2 separate regions of the Homo sapiens genome follow, and region 1 is linked to region 2. The links are contacts of gene promoters, found by promoter capture Hi-C in blood cells and fetal thymus (Javierre and others, 2016). All regions are on one chromosome and are shown on one strand. The core of a region is centred on a gene start or on the middle of the fragment in contact, and the rest is flanking DNA. Distances in the headings are between cores, read along the strand shown. Region 1 overlaps LINC00609 (long intergenic non-protein coding RNA 609). Region 2 holds the start of NKX2-8 (NK2 homeobox 8).

Region 1 (6,616 bases), core at 1,761-4,260, 490 kb before region 2:
TTAGTGAATTGGTAAATTTAGTGAATTTGGGTGTCTAGTACCACATTTTGAATATAGTTCAATTCCTCATTTTAAGAACAGTTCTTTCAGTACCCCGTGGTCTTCGAAGCAGTTTCTCAACTACAGGGTGCACTATCACGAATAAATGACAGAAAGAAGCACCATGCTGATAATCTAACGTTCTAAATTACTGTTAAGTACTTAGTTCTAACACCCACCCTCAGGTTTGTTATAGTAGAAGCTAATTAATAAATATGGATGTTTTTATTTTCCCCTTTCTCCTTTTTAACTTCCTAATGAGGTAAACAGATGGCAGACAACTGGCACCAGAGGTGAAGAGAACTGGCAGTGCAATGGTTAACTTCCTTTCCTAAAGGACATGTGGGCTTTATCCTAGTGTCTCAACTCGTTACTTATAGTGTTGATGGAGAGGCCTGAAGAAAAGGATCCCAGGGAGAGAGCAGGTGTGTTGGGCTGCTGTGGTTCTCCCTCAAAACTAGCTGTAGACACAATACAGGTGACCTGGCAACACTCAGAAGTACCAGCCTTTGAGATGCTGGGAATCCACATAACCTTGTGAATGCTTTGAAGGCAGGAGGGTATCTTACTAGATTTGGTTTCTCTGGCATCTAAGTAACCCTGGCATATAGTAGGTGCTTAATAGCTTTTTGCTGATCGGATACCTGGAAGTAAAACATACATCTTTATAATTTTGTATTAGATTTGATTTTATTTAGACGTTGCCAGTGCTGGGAGATTATACTCTGCTACTTGATACTCAACAATTTTGTAAAGGTTTATATTTACTAAAGAAACTTTCTATTTAAAGAAATCTGTGAAAATCCTTTTGTAAAAATTGATTAATTTTTAATACTGTATGCTTTGTAAATTTCTGTCTCTGTGAATAAAGAAGCACGAATCTAAAATAAACTGTTACCGAACAGGCATAATAGCCAGGAGAATCTGAAGTAGCCCCTTCTTTCATTTAAAATGTAGATCTGTCTTACTCCTTGCTTTCTTCTTTCGGGGCTGCCTGCCACTAAATGTTAAATGGTAACATCTCTACTGGCAATTGAAGAAAATAGACCTGAAGGCACTATAGACTCTTTAGAATGAAAGTATTTTATTTCACCATTCTCTTGTTATTTAAAGGTGTAAGGCTTAATTTCCATAGAGCCTATTCCTAAGTAAGATTTTAAGGCATCCCCTTGGGGCAGAGGTGAAAGGGGTGGGAGAGATAGGGGAGATAGGGTGAAATTTGGGGGTTTCTTTCAGAAGTTGTGCATAGGGGGCTCTCAGAGCGGCTGTCCCCTGGCTCTGCTCCTATTGGCTGTGGAAAGTGGGGTGGGGTTAGCCATTTCTGCAGTTGCTGCTGGGGCAAGGCAGGGACCTCTGAAAGAACCAGACACAACCTCCCTGATGTGGATCACTCTGTGTGTTCTCCAAGAGCGCACTCTGGCCCACGGCTTGACTTGCCTTTATTTTTCAACAAAAGGAGGAAAGTGAATTCCTTCTAGAGCTTGTTTAGGTGCTCCTTGGCTCCTTGGTGCTGGGCTCTGGCAGGATACAGCCACTGAAGTGTAGTGCATTTTAAAAAACTCTTTCTGGGAAATGAAAACATGATTTTGAAGTAGTCTGTAGTATTGAAATGCAGCACTCTGCTTCTTTGCGAAGCAAGACTTACTGGAGGCTCACTGGTACAGAAGGGCCCTCAAGGCAAAGAGGCTCAGAAACAGCAGGAATGGGATCTTGAGAAAGGTACCGCTCATCCTATGAAACAAATTGCTCTAATTAAAAAAAAAATGTGTCATGTTAGCAAGAGGAACTCAGCTGGCAATGTGACGGTGGAAGTAAGTTGTAAAAAGCCTCCATAGAAATATCTACTCTACCGACTTCATAATCTCTGCTGCTTTCTGAGGTGTGATGAAAAGGATCGGAAATTGTTGGCCGGTGGCCTCCAACACTTCTGGCCATTCCCTTCTCCCCTCACCCTCTTCTCCCAGGAAAAAGAATCTCTCTTTGAAAACATTTCCCTTTTATTTTCCTTTTCATCATCCTGTCTGAGTACATGGCTTCAATAGAGAAAGATGCTTTAAGACATTAACATTTTATCAACTTAAGGCTCTTTCAGCCATCGCCCACAAATCCCTATGGAATTTTGAACACTTAAGGTTAATTAGTTGTGCATTTGTTAAAAAGTCTGTGCCCTTAATAATAAAATAGGACCATCAAAGGGAAAAAAATAACATTTATTTAAATATATACAGTGTTTGAGATCACAAATTTCTATGTCTGCCTGGAAGCACTATCCTCTATTTTCATTAGTGTTTATATTCTTGCTTTTATTTGATTCTATTTGCATGAATTAAAATATTTTCTTTTATTTTGCCATTTGCTTTTAGAAATGCTAAAATTTAGCCAACTTTAATTGAATCATATTGTCTATTGGTATAGGAAATTCTCATTCTATTTCATAATAGAAGAGAAACACCAAAAGCAAAATGCTATATTGAAGCAAAATACAGTCTACCTGTTTGGGGATTATAAATCTCTGTAGGTTCTTAGAAGAATTATCCAAAATTCCCATAGAGACATAGTTTTTTTATGCCAGTGGTTCTCAAAGTTTAATGTACCTATGAATCACCAAAGGGATTTTTGTTAAAATGCAATTCTGATTCAGTAAGTCCTGGGCAGGGTCCAAGATGATACAGTTGTGACAAGCTCCCACATGCTGCTGATGGTTCTGGGATAGAGACACACTTTGTGGAACTAGCACCTACAGACATTTGCATTTTAGTTTCTTTGGTTTCAGCTGTATGCTTTCACTGGTTGGTGGAACTCAAAGCTTAGAAGAATTTAATAAAACTTACATTTTTGGTACTGACTTAGCAATGATAAGCTTTCTTTTCTTAAAGGAAGAGAAGCCGAGATTCACAGATGAGTTCTCAGCTGGCCCTGGGCCCTCACGTCCCTTCTATAGATGTCTAATGGGACTCTGGAGCTTCTCCTTTGTTCTCCTAGTCATGTAGAATTCAACTTTGCATTCTAGATATCAATTAGAGATGGGTGGTTTTTTTTTTTTAAAAAAAGTGTACTCCTATTTTAAGATATTTCCTTATCATGAAGCTTTTACCAAGAGCCCTGAAGAATATTCAATAAATCGAAGGCCTTAGAGATAAGCGTTTCTCTGTATATTTTTGGCTTATTATAATATAGAAATAAATATTTCAGCTAAATAATGATAAAATAATCTTTTTTAAACATTAGCTCTTTAAATGTTGTCTCTCCCATTAGACTATTAATTCCTTGAAGGCAGGGTCTATGTGTTAGGTTGTTCTTGCATTGTTGTGAAGAACTACCTGACACTGGGTAATTTATAAAGAAAAGAGGTTTAATTAGCTTACAGTTTTGCAGGCTGTACAAGCATGGCGCCAACACTGCTTGGCTTCTCGGGAGGCCTCAGGGAGCTTTTACTCATGGTGGAAGGCAAAGTGGGAGCAAGCACTTCACATGGTGAAAATAGGAGCAAGTGACAGAGAGAAAGAGAGCAAAAGGCGATGGGGTGTGGGGAGGAGCCACACGCTTTTAAATGATCAGATCTCGCGAGAACTCACTATCATGAAGATGGCACCAAGCCATGAGGGATCCATCCCTGTGATCTGAACAGCTCCCACCAGGCCCCACCTCTAGAATCGGAGATTACAATCTAACATGAGATTAGGGCAGGGACAACTATCTAAACTATATCAGTCTATGTATGTTTCACCTATGTACAGTTGTATAACTGTAGTTGCCAACAGGTTTTAGACAGAGCTGGCAAACCATAAATACTGGATAAATGGAATTCAAGTATCAAGTTGACATCAAGTCTGTCACACAGAAAGATCTCTGAAAATGACAATGGCCATTCATGGAGAAGGCTAGGGTTCTTTTTCTTCTTAGGACTTGCGGTTCCTCAGACATGTGTAGGCCTGCCTTTGACTCTGTGTTGCTCTCTGAATCTTAATTTTCCCACTTTTAAAATGGAGGTGAAACATCTGTCATGGGTAAGGAATGGTAAGAGTGAGCTACAGGTGTGGCTGTTTAGTGACTTTCCCAGTGTGCTTTGCTGGAAATAAAGAGACAAATGGCATATACAAAACATCCTTGGTAGGAGCCAGCCTTCCTCCCCACCAGGCAGAGACTATGTTCAATGTTCATTACACTGTGTTTTACTCACCATGCAGAAAGATAAATTTTTTTTAATTTTTTATTTTTTTGAGACAGAGTCTTGCTCTGTCACCCAGACTGGAGCGCAGTGGATCGATCTCAGCTCACTGCAACCTCTGCCTCCTGGGTTCAAGCGATTCTCCTGCCTTAGCCTCTCCAGTAGCTGGGATTACAGGCATGTGCCAGCACACCCCTAATTTTTATATTTTTAGTAGAGATGGGGTTTCATCACGTTGGCCAGGCTGGTCTCGAACTCCTCACCTCAGATGATCCACCCACCTCGGCCTCCCAAAGTGCTGGGATTACAGGTGTGAGCCACCACACCTGGCCCATAAGATTACATTTTTTAACCTTCCTTGTAGGTGGGTAGGGCTGGAATGATATGATTTGGAAAATGAAATGTAGGTTAAAATGATGATATAATTTCCAGACTTGATCCTTAAACACATCTTGCATTGGCTGAGTATAGTGGCTCATGTCTGTAATCCCAGCACTTTAGGAGGCCGAGGTGGGTGGATCACCTGAGGTCAGGAGTTCAAGACCAGCCTGGCCAACATGGTGAAATCCCTTCTGTACTAAAAATGCAAAAATTAGCAGGCGTGCTGGCACGTGCCTGTAATCACAGCTACTCGGGAGGCTGAGGCAGGAGAATTGCTTGAACCCGGGAGGCGGAGGTTGTAGTGAGCAGGGATCGCACCACTGCACTCCAGCCTGGAAGACAGAGCAAGACTCCATCTCAAAAACAAACAAACAAACAAACACCATCCTGCATCAACTGCTAGCCTTCTCTTCCCATTTTCTGGTAGCATTGGAAGCCACATGCTCCAGATGGTGTAGTCACAAGATGAAAGCTGTTTAGGTCCCTGAGCTTGGAGGATAGTCACCCAAGAGAGCCACATAACCCATATGGGACTGTACTGTGAAAGAGCAAAAAAAAAAAAACCAAAAAACCTTGATATGTGAAGCCACTGAGATTTTTGTGGTTACAGTGGCTAGCATTAATAATCATTAATAATTCTAATTAATATGCCTCTTGATACTTGTAAGAGATTTTTAGTCTGGGGGAGGGAGGAGAAGCAACAGAGAGGATAAAATGAGATAGAAGGGTTGTGATGCTTGAGAGACGGGGATTGGGGGTGAGCATACCATGTTCAGAGTCAGTCTACTTCTAAGAGAACGTCGCCTTACCGTTCAACAAGAGCTGTGTTTATTGTCCGTCCTACTGGCATATTGTGAGCACTTTCTTTTCACAGTAGTCAGTAGGTCCCCCCAGATGACTGGCTGTGACACTCATCTGTATTTCAAAACTCTGTCTGGGGCCAGGCGTGGTGGCTCACATCTATAATCTCAGCACTTTGGGAGGCTGAGGCAGGAGGATCACTTGAGCTCAGGAGTTCGGGATCAGCCTGGGCAACATAGTGAGACCTCATCTCTCTCTCTGTATAAAAACTTTGGCTGGTTACTGTCCAACATAAATAAGTTGGACTCCTCTCTCTCTTACTTCCTCCCTCCCCAAATACGGAAGGTTCCTGGTCTTTTGTGAATCAAAGAACATGAAGGTGGATCCCTGAATATTCAATACAGAAGGATGGAAGGAAAACATCATTGGTGTCCTTGGAAAAAGGTATACAAAACTAGCTCATAAGCAAGGAGAGTGTGAAAAGGCATAGCCCTCTTATAAAAATAGCTAACATGGCCAGGCGCGGTGGCTCATGCCTGTAATCCCAGCACTTTGGGAGGCTGACGTGGGTGGATCACCTGAAGTCAGGAGTTCGAGACCAGCCTAGTTAACATGGTGAAACCCCGTTTCTACTAAAAATACAAAAATTAGCTGGGTGTGGTAGCATGCACCTGTAGTCCCAGCTACTCAGGAGGCCAAGCAGGAGAATTGCTTGAACCTGGAAGGTGGAGGTTGCAGTGACCCAAGATCGCACCACTGCACTCCAGCCTGGGCAACAGAGCAAGACTCCCTCTCAAAAAAAAAAAAAAAAAAAAAAAGCCAACATGTAATGGTGTTTATTATGTAACTGGCACTGTGCCAAAAGCTAGACACATATCGTCTCATTTAATCATCACTACAGCTATATAAGTTATTTGTTTTATTTAATAAAAGAATAAACTTTTTATTTTTTTTAAATAAAAGAAGTCACAGAAAGGGTAAATTGCCCCGATCCCATGGTTAGTAAATGCAAGACTCAATGATTTCTCATTGCTTTTGAGACGGATAACAAATACCTTAATGTGCCTTACAAAATCCCATATGATCTGGTTCTTGTCTATGAACCCATCTTACTACTGAAGCCAGACATACTGACCTTCTTTTAATTTCTCAATCATGTAATGCTTTTTCCCACTCTAGTAACTCTCTCCCCCTATTCCCCCACCTTCCTTTTTTTTTTTCCTTTTT
Region 2 (6,442 bases), core at 683-3,182:
GGCTGGCGGTGGAGGGAAGGTGAGGGAGGGGGCTCTGGCACACGTCCCTCGTGTGTGCTTGCGCGACGGCTGATGAGGGCGCGCCAGGGACCCTGGCGCCCAAGGAGATGGGGCTGCAGGGAGGCGGACGGAGAGCGTTCCAGGCGTTCGGCTCCGGCCCTGCTCCAATCGCAGAGCGCGCTCCAAAGTCGAGGGTAGCCCCAGGTGCCGCCCTGCGGCCTCACCAGTTCCAGGAGACCAGGGCGGGGGATGCTAAGTGCTGGTAGGCGGGGAAGAGGCCAAGCGCCGAGCCGGGACCGAAGGCAGGGTAGCCCGGCAGAGGGCAGGCGGCGGCTGGAGGGGCGCCGCACTTCTCCTGGGCCGCGGCGGTTCCCACCTCGCCACCGCCGCCGCCGCCGCACGGCTGCCCGTCGCGAACAAGCACCGGCACCACCACGCGACGCAGCAGGCCGGGCGCGGCGTGCAGCTCGGCGGATGCTGCCAGGTCAGGCGACTCCGCCGCCCCTGGAGCGCGAGCGCGCTTCAGCTTGTAGCGATGATTCTGGAACCAGATCTTGACCTGCGTGGGCGTGAGGCGAAGCAGGCTCGCCAGCTGCTCGCGCTCGGGCGCAGACAGGTACCGCTGCTGCCGGAAGCGCCGCTCCAACTCCAGCGTCTGCGCCTTGGAGAATAGCACCCGCCGCTTCTTCCTTTTCTCGGCGTCCGAGCCCGGAGACGCGGGCCTAGCGGACGGCCGCTGCGACGAGTCTGGCGGGCTGGTCTCCAGGCTGCTCTCGTCCGAGGCTAGGGACAGCAAAGGAGACACGGGTGGGTGAGACGCCGGACCCTACGAGGGCCTGCTGCCCTTCTGGCGCGGGCGTGGAGGCACTGGCCAGAGGGCACGCCCACTAGCCCGAGACTTTCGGGATGAGGCCATTTCCTGAGTCCACATCTGGACATCCACCTCTCCGAATGCGGTGACCTCATTCATACCACAGCGGTCATCAGCGGGCCTGAGATCGTGCCCCGAAAAAACCCACCCCGGGGCCCTCTTAACATGTCCGCACCGGTAGTTGCGCTGGCCGACCAGTTTATCACAAGCTGGGTCACCAGCGCCGGCCTCCTCCAGGTCGACTGCACTGCAGTGTGCCGAGGTTTGCGGAGCCCTGAGTGGGAACGGGGTGGGGGTAAACTCGCCAACACTGGCCATCCCAGACGGAGGCCTGGAGATCGTGGCCGTGTTTTCAGGCATGGAGAGGGGGCGGGGGGTGGGGTGGGGGCGGCAGGTGGCGGCGCGTTTTAAATTTCAATTATTCCGACCTCTAGAAATCGTCAGACACAGAAACCCCAAATCTCGGAGCACCAGTGCCAGGCAGGGATCTGCTCTTAGGATGTGCCGACCGGGATGAATGCGTTAGGGGTTCGAGGACAGGGCTCCCGTTTCCAAGACTGAGGAAATCTAGACTCTGGGCTGGGATTTCGGCTTTCCGGCCCCTCGTGGGCTGGGCCCTTGATTCTGCTGCCCCACGCCTCCTACCTCCCACCCCGCACCGCAATCCACCACGCACTTACAAGGGTAGTGGCCGCGCTCCGAATCCAGCCAGGCGGCGCAGGGGTCGGGCTGGGGGGCGCGTGGTTCTGGCTCCCGCCTCGGCAGGTGTTGCGCGTCCTGCTCGGGTAAATCTAGAAGGCTGCGCACGGTGAAGCTCAGGCGTCCAGAGGTGGCCATGGCCGAGGAGGGGAAGGAGGCGGGGGCAGGGCAGGCTGGGAACGGAGGGGCGGCCGGGACGCCGCTCCTACGGATGGGCGTGGGAGGCGCTCGCCATGCGCTGGCAGCCGGGATATTAGCGCATTTACAGCGGAATCTCTGTTTATATAAACAGCTCTTCCCACCCAGGCCGCTTTGAAAGCCGAGGTCCGGGTCTCCAGGGTGTTAAGTACCTGAATGAGCACTGGACCAGAGCCGGGGCGAGCCCGGAAGGTGCCACCTCCGCCCCCGCCCCGCCCCGCACCCCGCCCCGCACCCCGCCCCTTGGCGCCCAGTTACCTCCCAGAGGCTGCAGGAAGCAGCATTTGGCATTAGCGATTCTGTCTGATTAGCCCAAAGTGGGGACAGATAATGGGGATTGTTACCAGTGAATAACATCTTGGGTGGCGAGCGGTGGCCACCACCCGCCTGACCCAGCCCCAGCTTCCTCCTCCTCCTCCTGGGCTGACTTGAGGCCAGGCCCCGCGGGAGCGCCGGGAAGGGTGGGGGTGGCAGGGGTGGGTTTATTAGCACCCAGGAATTTATTCCCTGTTTGCTTTATTCTTCGAGCTTGTTTGCTGGAGTGGTAGTTTCCCGCAATTATCCAGAAAGTGATTTACAAAGCGGCGTTAAACTCTGGCGCGCTCCCTTTCTCTTTTTGGTTGGGCCCCTCTAAGATTCAGGATGACAAGTTTCAGGAGGGCGTAAAGATTAGCCTGGCCCTGCCAGCATTGGCCCAGGGGTTTCAACGGCCGCTGGGAGCCTCGGATCACACCATACATCCCCCTAACAGCCTCAGAGGTGCTGAGGAAGGGCTGGGACAACATTCGGAGCCCCAGCTCCACGTCTCCACAGGCCGGCAAAACAGAAGAGGCTTGTAGCCAAGCTACTTAGGTCTACAGTGCCTGTCTCTTTGGCCCAGCTTCGCCCGGCCGCTGCCGATCTCGGAGCTCGGAGGCCGAGCTCCACAAATTTGGGTCCAGGCCCGCTTTAGAGCCCCTGGGCGGGGGCGCTTCTCAGGGCATCCTGTGAGGGCTTTGAGGCCTCCTTGGAGTCGCCAGATGAACTGGTGCCGCCTGTGCGCCTTGGCCCCATAGCCTCAACGGCACTCTCACTGCCTGGGCTTTGGTCTTTGCCCAGGAGCCTGCCCATGGCCTACGCTCCCCGCTCGCAGCATGGCAGACCCTGACGAGGCTGCCCGCCTTGGTCCGGGAATGGACCGATCGGGAGAATTAGGACAGGGCCTACCCGGCAGAAAATACCACCGGCCATGGGTTTCTCTGGGATCTTCTAGTTTCCACAGTTCCACCCTAGAAAATGATCAATGTAGGAGGCGCAGGGAACAGGCCGCCGTGGATACATTTTGTTGGGCCATGGCCTAGCTCTGGCCGCGCTTCAATCTACAGAGGAACGCCCTCTCAGAGGCCTCTCCTACTGAAGCTAGTAGTTTGGATATTTAGTTGCTAAATTGTAGCGAAGGGCTCTGTACTTGGGTGGCTGCACCAGAAGTCCTGGCTCCTCCCGGGCTGAACTCGAACCTGGCTCGGATGCGGCGGCGGCGGCCCTGTCAAGCCCCGCGCACCCTCCCCAGCAGCCTCCCTATCAAGCGTGCCCGAGGTGCCCGGAGCTGCACCGCGCGCTGGGTGGTCGGGCGGAGGCAACCCCAATACAGGCCAACTGCTAGGCCGCGGACAAAGGGGAAATGGAGCTCGACGCCCCGGACCTGTTGGAAGCATTTGTTCCAGTCAAGATTTTGCATTTGTTCAGTCCGGAATAATGCATGATTGACGTCTGCTCACAATGCGCTTTAACGCGCCGGGATAAATCGGAGCTTGTCCGGTGTTGTCATGGTTTTCAATGGGGTTCAATGGGATTGGGAGCACGATCGACTCTGCTGGCCGTCTTTCCGCGGCCCTGGCAATAGATTTATTAGTTATGTCTTTTTAAATAAGATTAAACTGAAATGACTTGGCTGTCCTCTCTGCAGACGGGGCCGGGGCGGGAGCCTGGAGTGGGCAGGGGACAGCGGAGTCTGGAAACCCGCCGCGCACCGCTCCTCAGCTCCCGAGCCCCCAGCGTCTAGAGAGTGGGCAGGTCGCAGACTGGCTCCAGGCCTCGTGGACTTATCTCTGGCCAGAGCCCGAGGCCTGGCAATCTCTGCCAGCCCACCTCCCTAGTGAGAAGCTGAGGCACTGACAAAGACCGTCCTGGGGAAGCAAGTGTTAAGACTGATTCCCAAATTCGGTCTTGAACTATGAGATTGTGTAAGGTAGAAGGAGCTCTGGCCTGGAAATCGGTTCGCATCCTCGCTCTGCCCCTACCTATCTCTAACCACCTCATTTCTCTAAGCTTCCTTCCTTCCTTTTTTTTTTTAAAATTAATCTGATACAGAAGATAGTAGGAGAATAGATTTGGTAATTTCTAAGGACCCTACCAGTTTTATGATTCTGTATCTCAGGAATTTTTCTAAACCTATCTTCATTGTAGCATTTACCAGCCGGATATTTAGACTCCCTCCTCCCTCAGGTTCTCGAATTCTTAGCCCCAGGACTGACTCCGTCTCCAGGATGTTCTAGGAGAGGAGGTGTCATCTTTTGAGTTTCCCAAGGATCCTCCACAGGAGTAGGGTGGGGTGGATAACAATTTAGGGAAGAGAACCAAGTCAGGAGAAGCAAAAGAAGAGTCTTTCCTTGAGTGACTGACCTCTCTTAGCCTTTTAATCTATTTAACATCCTAAGCCCACACTGACGTGTAGAAATAAGTAAATGGCGCTCTTCAGCTCTTAAGAGCTCTTCAGCATCAAATATTTGCTTTTACTCTTAGTGTTTGGCTTCCAAAGCAGAGATACAGGCCCCATCTAGCACTTGTGCTCTGGGAAGGACTTTGCTCTGGGATTCGCTCCAAATATTACTTCTAGCTTCATGTTCACGGGCTTCGGAAACAGTGTTCCTGGGCCTTGGTCTGCATTTTAGATGTCCCATGGAAACCCTGTAGCTCCTGGTTCTAGAAAGGGCTGCAGCTTACCTGCTTCATCTTGGATTCCCTCCTCCTCTGCCATAAGTGCCTCTGCCATAGGCCAACCTTCCTCTCAGCTCTGCTCCGCGGATTTAGCTGAATTATCTCTGAGAGCTAGAACCGGGGGACTCCAAGAAATTGTTCAATATAAACTGTGCCTTCTGAAGAAATGCAGGAAAGCCAGAATTAGAGAAAGGTACTTTCTATATTGCCTTTTCACATCAGATAAATTCACAGACATGGGAGGGGAAAATTATTTTGATATTGGGTCAATAGGAAAAGACAGTCAAGCTAATCTTAAGTTTTTTACACATTGGAGATATATACGAATTGCCTCCAATTCCCAAGAGATTCTTAGAATCACAAGTAAGCATTTAACTGGACATTATTTCCAGATTTTCATATATTATTTGGTGTTCTGGACAATTGAACTTCTTTGCAACTTAACATACCATGTGAATATTATTATTTAATTAGCTAAGTAGTTGTTTTCTTGTAATTGGATGTAGTATATCTCAATTCCAGTAAGAGTTTTTAATGTTTAGGCACCTGTAATATATGAGTATATTTAAGCTGTCCACAATAATCATCCTTTCAGAAGTATTATCCAGAGATGATTATCACTACCACGTGCTTAAGATTTTAAGACTAGAAAATTCTGAAATAAAACTAAAGCATCTTGATTTTGAAAAAAATGATTGTGTCTATATCTTGCATTCCGTTTTTAAATCCTTCCATTTTGGTTAAGTGTTTCACAAAATCCTGCAAATCTATACAGTATTGAAGAGAGGCAACACTGCAAATTCCCCTTGATAGATGGAGGGCCCTCAACTGCCAGGACATTTTTCTTTGCCTCATAGCAACTGCTCCCCCCTCTTTATCACTGTTGTGGTTAAAATAGCAAAAGGAAAATGAAAATGGGGTTCTGACACTTCCAAGAAGAAGTGGATGATCTTGATTGGTCATAGGATGTAAGGAATAGGCATCATTTAAAATCAGATCTCTTTGCCTTTCTTTCTAAAAACAAGTAAACATTTCCCTTCTAATGGCTAATAATCAATTGCTTCACAGTAGTCCAAGCTTGGCTGTGATTCTTTCTTAGTTATATCGATGATATATACACACAGGACAAGGAACAAACAGCAATTATTTTCAGGCTGGAAATTTAGTCTATTTTTGAAATGGCTTTAGATTTTATTGTTTAATGCCAAATGACAAGATTTGAATGATCCTACCTTCAGTCTCTTAAAATAATGACTTTACATTGACTTTGTTACTGTTCTTGATCTCTAGAGGGAAAGCTTTTCTTTCCTAATATGTTTCTCTAGTTATTTAAGTATGTACATGAAAAAATATATAGAAGTAAAATGGTTCAATTAATTGAAAAATAAACTTATTTTATTAAATATCCATCCTTACCATTTGCTAAAAAGCCAGCAAATAACTGTTTAAATTTTAGTTTATTAAATATTCTAGTCTTCCTTATGCCTTACAATGGTATAATAAGGATAGCTGTTATGGCATGATATGTAAGTTAGCAGAATAAAAATAGTAACACACCTTGGAGGAGGGGTGTCAGATCTTATTTGTCCAGAGCTGAACCTCTTATTTTTGTCTAAGCTTTTTTTTAAAGTACCATGTTATACTCCTTTGCTCAACTGATATAGATGTAGTTTCTATAACACAGAATTCTTATTGATG

What was found. The method cuts DNA at HindIII sites, captures the fragments that hold promoters and counts their contacts. A CHiCAGO score of 5 or more calls a contact.
Region 1: a contact is called between a fragment that was not itself captured here and the fragment with the promoter of NKX2-8 in region 2, in 3 of 17 cell types (M1 macrophages, megakaryocytes and M0 macrophages). The highest score is 7.6, in M1 macrophages.

What each region holds. Positions count from the first base shown.
Region 1 is chr14:36,093,564-36,100,179 of GRCh38, forward strand. All of the region lies in intron 1 of LINC00609 (long intergenic non-protein coding RNA 609), which reads left to right. Among named protein-coding and RNA genes, the nearest start is that of LINC00609, 26 kb to the left of the region's middle. The HindIII fragment of the contact is 227 bases long and covers 2,898-3,124 here.
Region 2 is chr14:36,580,682-36,587,123 of GRCh38, forward strand. NKX2-8 (NK2 homeobox 8) reads right to left here and starts at 1,933. Exons shown (of 2, transcript NM_014360.4): 1 at 1,552-1,933; 2 at 1-783. The coding sequence starts at 1,708. The coding sequence ends at 221. RefSeq lists enhancers at 1-513, 514-1,324. The HindIII fragment of the contact is 11,395 bases long and covers 1-4,073 here.